Linked DNA regions of Homo sapiens: all the other regions are linked to region 3. The links are contacts of gene promoters, found by promoter capture Hi-C in blood cells and fetal thymus (Javierre and others, 2016). All regions are on one chromosome and are shown on one strand. The core of a region is centred on a gene start or on the middle of the fragment in contact, and the rest is flanking DNA. Distances in the headings are between cores, read along the strand shown.

What was found. Contacts are between HindIII fragments. The CHiCAGO score rates a contact against its expected background, and 5 or more counts as called.
Region 1: a fragment that was not itself captured here is called in contact with the fragment with the promoter of FER1L6-AS1 in region 3 in 5 of 17 cell types (M1 macrophages, M0 macrophages, megakaryocytes and 2 more); the score reaches 8.2 in M1 macrophages.
Region 2: a fragment that was not itself captured here is called in contact with the fragment with the promoter of FER1L6-AS1 in region 3 in 7 of 17 cell types (M2 macrophages, M0 macrophages, megakaryocytes and 4 more); the score reaches 8.0 in M2 macrophages.

Annotation. Positions count from the first base shown.
Region 1 is chr8:124,205,005-124,209,899 of GRCh38, forward strand. LOC101927588 (a long non-coding RNA gene) reads right to left here. Exons shown (of 3, transcript NR_125420.1): 2 at 3,112-3,317. Among named protein-coding and RNA genes, the nearest start is that of FER1L6-AS2, 36 kb to the left of the region's middle. The HindIII fragment of the contact is 1,967 bases long and covers 687-2,653 here.
Region 2 is chr8:124,224,483-124,229,124 of GRCh38, forward strand. All of the region lies in intron 1 of LOC101927588 (a long non-coding RNA gene), which reads right to left. Among named protein-coding and RNA genes, the nearest start is that of FER1L6-AS2, 55 kb to the left of the region's middle. The HindIII fragment of the contact is 1,460 bases long and covers 720-2,179 here.
Region 3 is chr8:124,037,647-124,042,163 of GRCh38, forward strand. It overlaps FER1L6-AS1 (FER1L6 antisense RNA 1), which reads right to left and starts at 3,136. Exons shown (of 6, transcript NR_040044.1): 1 at 2,980-3,136. It overlaps FER1L6 (fer-1 like family member 6), which reads left to right. Exons shown (of 41, transcript NM_001039112.2): 20 at 2,236-2,360. The HindIII fragment of the contact is 11,424 bases long and covers 1-4,517 here.

The sequences.
Region 1 (4,895 bases), core at 420-2,919, 170 kb after region 3:
CCCAAAGTGCTGGGATTACAGACTGAGCCCACTGTGCCTGCCTTCAAATGTCCATGTCCTAATCCCCAGAAGCTGTGACTATCTTAGATTCCATGGCTAAAGAGAATTAAAATTGCCGACGGAATTAAGGTTGCTAATCAGCTGACCTTAAAATTGGGAGATCCCCTGGTTGATCTTTATAGGCCCAGTGTAAGCAGGAGGGTCCTTAAAAGTGGAAGAGGGAGGCAGGAGAGGAGAGGCAGAGGGAGATGTAGAAGATATAGAAGAATGGTCAGAGAGAGGTAACATTGCTGGCTTTAAAGATGAGGAAGGAGCCATGAGCCAGGGAATACAGGCAGCCTCTGGAACCTGGACAGAAGGAAACAGATTCTTCTCTAGCTTCTCCAGAAGGAGCAGAGCCCTGCTGACACCATGATTTTAGCCCAGTGAGATCTGCACCAGACTTTTAACCTATATAACTACAAGAATATTAATTCGTATTGTTTTAAGCCACTAAGTTTGTGATAATTTTTTATGATGTCAATAGGAAACTGATACTGTGGGATACCTTGAATTTGACCTTGGGCCTGCCTTACTGAAAATTTGTGCTCCTATTATACCAAATTGACCTGGCTTTGAAACCTGGTTCCATTTGTTAGATATGTGATTTGGGGCACATTAACAGTGACAGAAAAATAGGCTTTACAAGCTTCTTTGGATTTGAGAAGTACCATATTTGATTGTGCGCCCCAAATTTATTTATCTGGTGACCTAAAAGGCTGATATTACCCTGATATTTAAAGCAAGAAATATTCTCCTAGATGGCACCATTCAAGCAGCTCAGACTTTCAGCTCTTATAATCTTTGATGGTTAACACTGAGTCTCAACTTGATGGGATTGAAGGATGCAAAGTATTGTCCCTGGGTGTTTCTGTGAGGGAGTTGCTAAAGGAGATTAACATTTGAGTCAGTGGACTGGAAGAGGCAGACCCCCGCTTCAAGCTGGGTGGGCACCATCTAATCAGCTGCCAGCACGGCTAGGATAAAAGCAGACAAAGAACGTGGAAGGACTAGACTGGCCTGAGTCTTCTGGCCTCCATCTTTTTCCTGTGCTGGAGGCTTCCTGCCCTCAAGCACTGGACTCCAAATTTTTCAGCTTTTGGACTCTTGGACCTACACTACTGGTTTGCCAGGGGCTCTTGGGCCTTTGGCCACAAGCTAAAGGCTGTACTGTCAGCATTCCTACTTTTGAGGTTTTTGGGACGGCTTCCTTGCTCCTCAGTTTGCAGACAACCTATTGTGAAACTTTACCTTGTGATCATGTGAGTCAATACTCCTTAATAAACTCCCTTTTTCTTTTTTTCTTTTTTCAGACGGAATCTCGCTCTGTCACCCAGGCTGGAGTGCAGTGGCACAATCCTGGCTCACTGCAACCTCTGCCTCCTGGGTTCAAGCGATTTTCCTGTCTCAGCCTCCCGAGTAGCTGGGATTACAAGCATGCGCCACCACGCCCAGCTAATTTTTGTATTTTTAGTAGAGATGAGGTTTCACCATGTTGGTCAGGCTGGCCCTTTCATATATACATCTGTGCTATTAGTCCTGTCCCTCTAGAGAACCCTAATACATAACCCAATTGATGAAGTAGGTTGGAAGTACCAGTGTTATTAGAATTAATATCGTAAGGCTCTTTGGGAACTGCAGTAAGCCCTCATAGGAGAATCATAGCAGAGGCCCCTGGTTTTAGAATAAAACCATGTTTCTTAGGCAAATAACAGCTCTCAGCTTGTTTCTGGGCCATGGGAGAAACTTAACAGAGTAGTCCCCCTGCCTTATCAGTAAGGGATACATTCCAAGACCCCCAGTGGATGTCTGAAACTGTAGATAGTACCAAACCCTATGTATTTTGTTTGTTTGATCTAATAACCAAGATGGCTGCTAAGTGACTAACAAACAGTAGCATACACAGCGTTAATATGCTTGACAAATGGAAGATTTGTGTCCCGGGCAGGATGGAATAGGACAGAGCAAGATTTTGTAGAGTACTCAGAATGGAGTGCAACTTAAAACAAATGAGTTATTTATTTCTGGAGGTTTCCATTTAATATTTTCAGATTGCAGTTGTCCATAGGCAACTGAAACTTCACAAAGTAAAACCATGAGTAAGAGGGGACGATGTACCTGGCCATGCAGCACCTTGCTACTTAAGCAGCTTATTATGAACTAAGATATTGTTTCAGAAAGAGTATTCCACTAACACCCAGAAACTTCCCTGAGGTATCAGCACCTTCTGGCACACATGTCTTGGCAAGATACAAGTGAACCTGCTCCTTCTGCTCTCCAGACTATCCACAATATGTCATCAATATAACAGACTCACAGGATACCCTGCAAAATGATAAGATGAGAAAGTCTCCTATGTACTAAGTTATGGCAGAGCCAGAGTTGACATAACTTTGAAGCAAAATGGTGAAGATGTACTGTTGCCTCCTCTAGGTAAAAGCAAACTGCTTCTTGTTTTTGTCTTCTCATTGGGATAGCTGAAAAAGCATTTTGCAAATTAATAGTTGTATATTAGGGACCACGGGCTTTTGAGGTTTTGGGACTTTGTCAATTTGCTTCAATAAGGAAATCACAACTTGGATCAGTGACTGCAATAGAAGTCTCTTCCTGATTAAGCTTTTGATAGTCCACTGCTATTTTTTAACCTCCAAGTATCTTTCTGTACCAACTAAATATAGTGATATACAGAAATAACCACTCATATATATTTCAAGTCTTTGGTGATGCCACACATTTCTGCAGTTCCCTCAGGAAAGGGTGGCTGCTCTTGATTTACTTTTCTGGCAGGGAGGGGGAGCTTTCATTTTCTCTCTTCTGCAATAGTAGCCTTTATTTATGGGTCCCAGGGGCAATATGGAATTCTACTATGGAATTCTACCAAGCTGAGCCTCTATGATTCCATCAGACACTACAGGACTAGAGAAATAACCACAGGGTGAGCTGAAGGCTCTAGTGAGTCTGTTGCAAAGCAGCCTACAATAAAAATAGAGTGGATCACCCGACACTGGGTATTAGTTATCTATAGCTACGTCTCAAGTTACCCAAAACTTAATAGCTGAGAACAGCACTTACCATCTCACAGCATCTGTGGTTCAGGAATGCCGGAGCAGCATGGCTGCATGGTCCTGGCTGAGCATCCCTCCCAGCCTGCTGTCATCTCAAGGCTTCCCTGAGGGATGATCCACCTCCAAGCTCAGTCACGTGGTCGCTGGCAGGCTGTAGTTCTTTGACATGTGGGCCTTTTTATGCCTCACAACATGGGAGCTTTCTTCCCCCAGCTGAGCAATTCAAGAGAGTGTGAAAGAGAACCCAAGGTCCAAAAAAAAGAAAAAAATCTTTTTATAACCCAATCTTGGAAGTGACATTCCCTAAGTTCTGCCATATTTCATTTACTAGACCAAATAAACCCAGCCCACATTCAAGCAGAAGGGATTCCACAAGGGTATGGATACAGCAGGCAAGGAATGCTGCACTTCATTTTAGAGGCTGGCATTACTCTGATTATTGGCCCACAGTAGTGTGCTAAGTCCCCATGAATTAAGGATAGCTCAAAGTCGGCATCATGAACCCTAAAAATCTGTGTAACTTCTTTCCTCAGAATAAAATTACCCTGGTAAATGACTGCAGGACCCTTTCAGAAGGCTGGAGGGAAGATGTGCTTACATACTTGAGATGATTTTGGAGGGTCTTCCTCAGGGTACTCAATCTTCCACTCATTCTAAGTGTTCTCAGTTCTCTAGCTTTGTGAACTGACTCTATTCTCTTTTGATGACTTGATGGCTCAAGTATGAGCTCTAGTTCCCAGAAAAGGAGAGGTGTTTTTGTTGTTGTTGTAGTTTGTTTCTGATGGGGGTCTCACTCTGTCACCCAGGCTGGAGTGTAGTGGCGCAATCTTGGCTCACTGCAAACTGCGCCTCCCATGCCTCGGCCACCCGAGTAGCTGGGATTACAGTGCCTGCCACCATGTCCGTCTAATTTTTGTATTTTTAATAGAGATGGGGTTTCATCACGTTGGCCAGGATGGTCTCAAACCCCTGACCTGAAGTGATCTGCCATCCTCAGCCTCCCAAAGTGCTGGGATTACAGGCAGAAAAAGAGAGTTTTAAAATTTGTTTGGGTTTTTTTGTTTTGTTTTGTTTTGTGTTCAATTTTAAGGTTTCAAGTAGAACCTTCATGATTTGCCTATCTATTTTCACCCTTGGGACTCCATGATAAATTCACCACCACCAAAGCCCAGAGCACTGGGATTGCCACCCCTGCATGTCTGCTTACTCTGGTCGCCACACCTATTGCCTCCAGTGGTTGAGTGAAGCTATGTGACCAATGCCATCCAGATCCTTGATGACATCAGGAAGGCCATTCAACTTCAGTATCTTCTATCATTATCCCTGGTTTTCACAAATAGCCCCTCCAGCATTTTTCAATGATGCTGGTTCTTTCTTTGCCAATGTATTACCCAAGGCTTGGAGAAAGGAGTTTCTTTTTTTAGTTCTCTCAGAAAATATGTTTAGGGAGTAGTTAGGTAGCTTTTATGTAATACTCCATTTTTCTGTCTACAATTTTAATTTCTCCTTTATTTCTCTAAATTATCCTGAGAGATTTTCAGTATCTAAACTTCATTTTCCAGGGGCCACCTTTGGGACAGGTTTAAGTCAACCAACTAACCAATTATCTAGAATCAGCTAAAGATGCTCAAGCGAGCACATTGACCCAAGCATTGTTGACCTGACTTCTCTCTTTCTGCCTTGGTTCCTAACCAGTGGGTTCTGACTGCTACAGCATGTTTCTCTAACGGAATGTTAAGTGGTGGTTTCCCATATTGAAGCAGAGGAGTTGAGCTCAGAAATTAGATTCTT
Region 2 (4,642 bases), core at 200-2,699, 190 kb after region 3:
TGGAGCCAGCCAGGAGCAGTGGCTCACGCCTGTAATCCCAGCACTTTAGGAGGCCAAGGTGGGCAGATCACCTGAGGTCAGGAGTTCGAGACCAGCCTGGCCAACATGGTGAAACCCCGTCTCTACTAAAAATACAAAAATTAGCTGGGCGTGGTGGCACGCATCTGTAATCCCAGCTACTCATGCAGCTAAGGCATGAAAATCACTTGAACCTGGGAGGTGGAGGTTGCTGTGAGCTGAGATCCTGCCACCGCACTCCAGTCTGGGCAACAGAGCAAGACTCCATCGCAAAAAAAGAGAAAGAAAGAGAGAGAGAAGAGAGAAAGAAAGAAAAAGAAAGAAAAAGAAAGAAAGAAAGAAAGAAAGAAGGAAGAAAAAAGAAAGAAAGAGAAAGAAAGAAAGAAAGAAAAAGAGAAAGAAAGAAAGAAAGAAAAAAAGAAAGAAAGAAAGAAAGAAAGAAAGAAAGAAAGAAAGAAAGAAAGAAAGAAAGAAAGAAAGAAAGAAAGAAAAGTCTTAGGAAACTTGGACTATAAGAGAATTTCCTAAATCTAATAAAGGTGTCTACAGATCCTTAAGAAAAGTACTGACAAAATATTCAAAGTATTCCCTGTAATTTCTGGAGCAAGAAAAAAGTTTTTCACTATTACTATTCATAAAATTATTCCAGAAGTTTGGCAAGTACAATAAAATAAGGCAAAAAAGATTTCAGATTCCTTAAAAGCTTAGCTTTTAAAATCACCAACATGCTAACTGCTTTCTAATGCTACTTTCCAAACATCACTCATCCATGACTGTGGGTTGGACTTTGCTCCATTACAGGCCAATGTCATTTCCATTTCAGTTCATGCCAGCTTCTAATGTCTATTCCTGAGCCAGTCCCAGGCAACCTTTTCTATACTATGTCTGATGCCCATAGCTTTCTTGTGTTTGATAAACCCAGCAGAGTCTATGAAAACCACCAGAAAAAAAGGGAGTTTGAAGCAGCTGTATTCATACAGTTTAGTACAATCACTGGGATGAGATTTGGACTTGGAAGTTATCATTGAGAATGAATCCTGACCCCATACTTTCTGAGCACTGGGCTTTAGTTAAGCTGTTTTATTCCTCAAAGCCTCAGTTTCCTGATCTGTAAAATGGAGGTATAATCCCTTCATTGTCAGATTTCTATTATATAAGGATAAAGTAAGAAAATGTAGGTAAATTACTATTATTTTCAAGTGCTCCATGATACACATACACACACACACACACGCACACATGCACACACACAGAGAGCAGCCTATCTCTCCCATTAGGACTATGATAATGGGAGTTCATTATTTTGGGCACTGTGTATTATCCCCAGTAACTAGGATACTCTATATGTTTAATGCTCTATATAATGAAAAACTGGGCAGATGGATACATTAATGACAATTTTTTTTTTTTTTTTTTTTTTTTTTTTGCTTTGCTTTGCTTTGCTTTGCTTTGCTAAGCATCTCCAGGATAGAAAAGCCAATGGGAAAGAAATGGACGTAGAAACCATGACTTGGAAGCAGAAGTTGAGTCAAGGACACACCTGCAGAGAAATCACTCAAAACTCCCACAGCATCAGGCTCTGCCAAGTTTTTGTCCTTCATTCCTCAGAGTTTGATCTTCAAGCACAACACGGCCACATGTTTCCTTCACAGACTTTTACAGTCTTCAAATCCTTCTCGTGAACATATTGTCATTAGATTTTTGCAATAGCCTGCTAAGGTAGGAAACACAACTATTAGTGTCCTCATTTCACAAACAAGGAAAGTGAGGTTTAGAGAGGCTGAGCAAGCTGCTCTGATGTCTCACCAAGTGCTGGTTCCATCATGTGGCATGGCCTGACCAATGCGAAGCAGGAATGCAAATAAGAATCATATTGGCTGTGAGAAACTGCTTTTCCATTGCAACAAAATCATGGAGACTGCATCCCAGTCTTGTGTAACAAGCAGGAGGCTTCCAGGAGAGGAGCTGAGGTTCTAATTCTGAGCCTGCTTTTATTAGCTGCCATTTGGCTTGGAGAAAGGGAACTACGGGACTTCACAATGAAAAAGATTGGAGTTTGAATCTCGACTCTGTCACTATCTGTATAACCTTAGGCAAGTTACTTTATCTCTTTGAGTCATAGTTTTGCAATCTACAAAAATGGGATGATATCCAATTTTGAAGCTTAATTGAGATTACTTAGCAAAGTACCTGGAATCTAGTTGGAGTTCTATCAATAGTAATTCTCCATTTTCTCTTCCCTACTCATTTCTTCCTTTGTGAACTGGAAAGAAACACTATACCATAAGAGCATGGACTTCAGAGCCAGGCGGCCTGGGTTTCAATTCTAGCTCAGCTATTTGTTGGCCATGTGATCTTGGGCAAATTATTTAACCTTGCTGTGCCTTAGTTTGCTCATCTGTAAAATGGGGATAACGATAGTACTGACCTCACAGGGTTGTAATGAAGATAAAATGAGTTAACATTTGTAAAGTGCTCAGAACGCCTACTGGCATAGAGTAGGTGTTATATATATAGTTTTTGAATAAAAAATAACCAGGCTCACAGAACATTTGTGAAAAAGACACCTGTGAAAATATTTTTGAAAGTTAAAAGAGCTAGACCAAGAAAGAGAAATACTAAAGCATCTCTCTGAAGCAACAGGAAGTATGGAGTCCTTACAATTTCACAGGCACTGCATAAGATACAAAACGATTAGGTCAGAATCATTCATTCAGCAGACATTTGTTGTGTGCCTATTACGCACCAGCCATTTTGCTAAGCCCTAGAGATACGATGGTTAGCAACAGAGCCAAGGCCATTGCCCTTGTACAGCTACCATTCAGAGGAAAGGGAGTTGGAAATTTTAGGAAAAGGGAAAAAATAAATCAATAGGACAGCTACACTTTGTAATAAGTGGTTAGAAGGAAACAGATGCTTTGCTGTGATCATGGACAATGGCAGGAAAGGATGCTTTAGATAAAGGCGTCAATGAAGGTTTCTCCAAAAAGATGACACAGGCTGAGACCTAAAGGCTGTGGAGGTTTTGTTCATGGAGCTTAAAACAGTCTAGTGGGGTTGGGAGGATCCCACAGGAGCATAAATATGGAGACTCTAACGGAACCTTCCTCACAGGATGGTTCTGAGGAGTAAACAAACTGTAGTATGAGAAACGCTTGGCACAAGGCCTGGCGCATAGTAAATGCTAAATATCCTTACTGTCTTCCTGGGAAAGTGCATCACTCACAGCAGCACCCGTGGTCCCTGCATGGTCAGCTAGAGCACCGTTCTGGGGCCAGCCCCACCTGTCTGAACAGCATCCACTCAGGAATTCATTCAGTGACTCACTCAAACCAAGACACATTTATTTAGTGTATTTATGAGCCACCTAAAAGATATAAATGATACAAATATGACTCCAACTCTGCCCTCCAGGGACTCACAGCCCAGTGGGAGAAATAGAAACATGCAAATTCCCAAGGACGCAGCCTGGCGTCTAAGGAAGTAACGCTGTTCACTTTGGAACTGAGGATGGGGTGGCCTGTAGATTCTCACAAGACATGGGACAGTGGGTCAGGAATGTCTGGCTACGTGGAGAAGGGGTTGCCACATATCAGATGAGCTTCCAGTTTGCCAGCGTGCTGGATCAATGAGTGATAACGTAATACCTGGCCCATTGCACAGGGTCCATGGGCAAGCCCTGGGGCATAGAGTTGGGAGGGATGTGAACCCAAAGAACAGAGAATCCAGACACCGAAGATGGACAAACTGTCACACCCCCATCCCAGGGCAAGAGTGCAGGAGCCAGAGAGCATAAAAAGCATGGCCATTCTCGCCCAGCTTCAGAGGAAACCACAATCCAAAGGTGCCCCTAGCATTCCAGCTTCCAGTCCTCTGCTGACTTTGTCCTCTGACTGGAATTCTCTTTCTGTTCCCCATCTTCCAGATTCAGTGCCCAGCTTGCAAGTTCCTTTCTGTTTCTCTAATTGTTACAGTCTGCAGTCATCACCACCACCCCCTCAAACTGTCACAACATGTGTCTGCAAGACTCAGATCCTTCTTTCATCAGACCATCATGTATTAGGCACCTTTCAGTGCTAAGTGCTAGAGATAGAACATATGCAATATACTGTCCAGGGTGCCAGGAGAATCAGGCAGACATCCTGCCCTTAACACAAGGTCAGCACTGAAAGAGACACAAGTAAAGGGAATGGGACAGTGGCAAAGAAAAGATTTCATGCTTCCACTGTTTCCTGTTTCCCCACACCACATTGCCAAGTCCTTCTTTCCTTCATTTATTTGTTCATTGAAAAATATTTACTGAGTGCATGCTTCCAAGTGATTAGAGCACTTCAGTGAATAAAACAGACCAAACTGATCAGTGAGGTGATATTTTAGTGAAGGCATGAAAGAGGTAAGGAGACAATCACATGGACATCGGAGGGAGGAGTGATACAGTGCAAAGGCCCTGAGGTAAGCAGGGTCTAGGACCTGAGGTCAGAGTGGCTGGAGCAGAGTGAGCTTGGAGAAAGTAGAAGGGAGTGGAGGACAAGAAACAACAGATGAGTCATTGAAAGGCCTTTATCTCTTACTCTGAGCAAAGTCGGGAGTCTCTGGGAGATTTTGTGTCGAAGAGAAACATGAT
Region 3 (4,517 bases), core at 1,886-4,385:
TCTGATATGGTTGCTGTGTTCTCAGGCTCCATATTGGTCCCCATGCAGCCAGACAGTGGCATGGGGTGGAGGGTAGAGGGACAGAAACGTGTGTGAGCCTCAAGACAATCAAGTAAGGAGTTGTCTTTGGCACCCCCTGCCTTTCCTGTCCCTCCTCACCCTGCCAATCAGGGGTCAAGTCCTATAGCAACAAGGGCTGCCATGTCCCTCCCACCCCCTCATTTCCATCCCCTCCACCAGTGCCTAAACTCTGGTCCTTAAACTTCTGGCCTAGAGGGAGCAGTGTTGTCTCCTTGTTGGTTCTTCTCCCTGACACCTCTTCTGTCCATGGCTAGCTTGACTCAGTTTTATCGTCCTGAGGCTTTGCTCTGCTAGCACCAGCTCCTGTGCACAGACTTTCAAGAGTTTCCGATTGCCTCGTTCAGGCCTCCTAGGTCCTCAGTGATACGACTACAGCTGTCTGTGTCCCTAGACTCTAGATAAACTGGACTACATTCTTGCCCCATGTGGCCTAGTGTTTTTGACCCTGTCTTGACTCATCCTGCTCCAGTGTCTTGGCACCTCCACCTCTGTCTCTCAAATGTTACCATCCTTTAGGGCTCTGCTCAAAGGGCAGCACCACCTCCGCTATGGTCTGCCCCTTTTTCTTTGAATGTGCTTTGGTGAATGTGAATGATTGCTTTGCGTGCACATATTCTTATTTTACATGTATAGTACTGTCTCCTATCTCACTAAGCACTTAGATTCTTGAGATCCATCCATTTTGCCACGTGTACCTCTAATTCGTTGCCCCTAACTGCTTTCCCGAACTTCCTGACATTTTTCCTTTGCACTACCCCAGTGATGGACATGCAGGTTGCTTCCAGGTGCTCACCACAGGCTCACATTGCAATGAGCAATAGTAACAACACTCCAGCCTCTTCACCCCACTTTTAGAGTTCTTCCTATGGGCCAGGCACCATTCTGAGCCCTTCAGTTCTCTTCAATAACCCTATGAGGAACTATTATTACCTCGATTTTACAAATAAGGAGATAAAGGCACACTAATAAAGGATTAGTAGTAGCCATGTACAAGTCCCCACATGGATCTGTGTGAGACAAGTGTAGGGATGGCATTGTAGGGGGTGGAGGAGTTCACAGGGTATTTGTACCCTTAATTTAACTAAGTAGCGTTATTCAAGTTAGTCCACAAGAGCTTCTGTATACCACTCCCCAAGTCTGCACAAAAACAGACACACTGAACACAGTGGCTTTGGGGGAGTCCGTGAAATGGGAGTGGGTAAAGAAGTAAAAAGGGATAAGTGAATATAAAAACCAAGAGGCGCCCTGCAAGGGGCAGTGATCAGAAAGTACCATGGACCAAGGACTGTGATGAACTCAACTCTTACTTGAGGTTTCCCCACTGAACCCTGAGCTGCCCCAACCTGAGGCCTCCTATCCCAGCACAGTGTGCTCACTCCTGTCCTTTACCCCTGTGTTCCTTGCCAGCATTCTCACAGGACACTTATCCCTGACCCCCTGCCTGTGATGTGGGTGCTTGTCTTATCTTCTGCCTTCTCCCAGGAGCTCTCCAGGGGCAGGGACTGTCTTGTTACCACAGAATCCTCAGAGATCAAGACTGTACACAGTAGGTGCTCAGAATGACCCTGGCTGGCTGAATGGAAAATGAGTCAATGGATGACTTGAGACATATATTGTGTTTACTGAAGTGAAAACTATGTGGAGCAGCCCCTTTCACACACACAGGCACACACCCACACATGCCCACATGCACACACATGCACACACTCATGCCTGTATAAACAGGAGAATTACTGGGGAGTAAAATTTGATATTTTAGAAAGAGAAGAGGATTTTAGAATCAGAAATAAAATCGATGCTCCGGCATGGGTTAATTGTGCAAACTTTTGAAAGTCTTTTAACCTGGTTGTGGGCCATTTTTCCTCATCTATGAAGTGGAGAGCATGCTATTTCGCATGGTTTTAGTGAAGAATAAGACACATAACCTGGTGAAAGCACCAAGGAAGATGGCTGGGTTCAAAGTACCCCATAAATATCACCTCTTCCCTTTCTTCAGGACTTCCATTCCTGTCTCAGAGGAGGGTGGATGTGGCTGGTGGTCTCCTTTTGTCTGTCTGTGGATACATAGATGGACATCACACACAGACACACATGTGCACACACTGTTCTTGAAAAGCCCACTAACACCTGCCCCCTTCCATGATTTGTCCACAGAACAGCATGTTTTTCAGCTGAGGGCTCACATGTACCAAGCCCGGGGCCTCATCGCAGCTGACAGCAATGGACTTTCAGACCCTTTTGCCAAAGTCACGTTCCTTTCTCACTGCCAGACAACAAAGGTAACCAGGGTAACCAAGACAGCCTGCTTCTTTCCTGCAGCCTGCAACTGACCCACAGAAGATCCCAGGAAAGAAACAACGGGGGCATGTTGCAAATACCTGCATCTTTGGGTGTGTAGATGTTTCAGACTGAAAAGCGAATATGTGCCCAGAAGGACTGGTGTGGGGAAGGTCTATTGTTTCAGTGTGATTCATTGTCCTAGGGCAAAGGATGCAAGTCCCTGAGGCGAAGGAAGGCTGGGAGAAAAAGAGGAATGAGGCGGAGAAGGCTAAAGTGCCAGGCACGAGGCCAAGTGCAGTGGGGAAGGAGCAAATGAGGAAACAGCACAGATCAACCTGCAGGAGGTTTATGATCCAATCATTATGAAGGGGTCTCAGTGGGGAGAAACATTTTCCAGTTTTGTGGTCAAGATGCGCTAGACTTTGCACTCACCAGCTGGGGAGCTTCGCATGCTTTTAACATCTTTATGCTTCACAGTCCCCCTCCTCTGGAAAATACTACTTCATAATGGATATTGTGAGTATTAAGGGAGATGGGTTGTCTTAATCCATTTAGCATTGCTTATAACAGAATACCTGAAACTGGGTAATTTCTAAAGAAAAGGAAATTATTTTTTACAGTTATGGAGGCTGGAGGTCCAAAGTTGAGGAGCCGTATCTGATGAGGGCCTTCTTGCTGGTGGGACCCTGCAGGTTCCGAGGCAGCACAGGGCATCACGTGGCAAGGGGGTGGAGCATGCTAATATGCTCGCTCAGGCCTCTCTTCCTCTTCTTCTGAAGCCACCAGTTCCCCTCCCATGACAGCCTATTAATCATAGATTAATCCATTTGTGAAGGCAGATCCTTTATGACCCAAACACCTCTTAAAGGTCCCGCCTCTCAATACTGTGACATTAGGGATTAAATTTCAACATGAGTTTTGGAAAAGACAAATATGCAAATCATAGTATGGGTCTGTGCCTGTTTCCTCTGTCTTTCTCCCTATCCTATACAACTAGTACTAAAATGTGAAAGGATTCCTAATCAGCAAAAATCCAGTAGGATGCTTGTCTCATTAGATTCTGTTCTTTAAACATTTATTCTGTTCTCTGATTTGTGGTTTGAAAAGAGGAAAACTCAGTAAAGAATTGCCCATCTCAGGGAGTTAAGCACCATGGGTTAGCACACACAGTGCCCTAAGGTTACTTTCTAGCTCATCTCCTCTTTGGCTGCATGTCTTTGGGCAAGTAACACAACTCACTAAACCTCAGGTTTGTCATTTTAAGATGGGACTGTCATGAAGAAGCAGATATTTAAGTTTATAAAATGATTGATAAATGATGGCCATGACATTGGCTGATGTTGAGAGGGCTAACATTGTTCTCCAGGGCAAAGCCCATGACCTCGATGATAGAGTAGACTGCATTTTGATTTATGACTCGCACACTGACAGCGTGATGTGAACCAGCCTCACATTCATTGAACCAGTGCCTGTCGGGTGCTGGCTTTTTGCCAGGCCACATGCTGGGCTCTGGAGGATGAGAGGAACCAGACTCTGCTCCAGTGTAATATACAATCCAGGCATGGATGCAGGCCTCATGACACACGAGTCACTACACTATGATAAGCCTCAGGGTGCAGGGCTGTACAGAGTCCTACAAGAGCCAGGTAGAGAAAGGGTTAGTTCTACCTGGGGGAGAAGTCAGGAGACACCTCAGAAGAAAGGTGACTTCATCCTCATTCAGTGACTGAGCATAAAAATGAGAAGACAACAGACTGCTTTCTCTTTCCTGTGTTTTGAGAGTTAGTATAGAGCATGGTGATGATGAGTATAGACTCTGGAGCTGCGCTGTCTGGGTCAAAATCCACGCTCTTCCATTTATCAGCTGTGTGACTCTAAACAAACCTCTGTTTGTGCCTCAATTTCTTTATCTGTGAAATAGGGATGATAACCTTGTACATTCCTTCCAGAGGATAAAATACCCAGGACAGTACCTTGCTTAAAACTAAGGCCTATGTGACTGCTTGTTGTTGTTGTAATTGAGGCTTCCTTCCTACAGCAAGGGAGTTCTCATAGGATGGACCCCTGGAGCCCTCCTCCACCTGCCACAACACTGTGGAGTTCCAGGGCCTTAGTGAAGTACAGGATTTGGACTAAATCCTTGGTCTGCTGTGTAA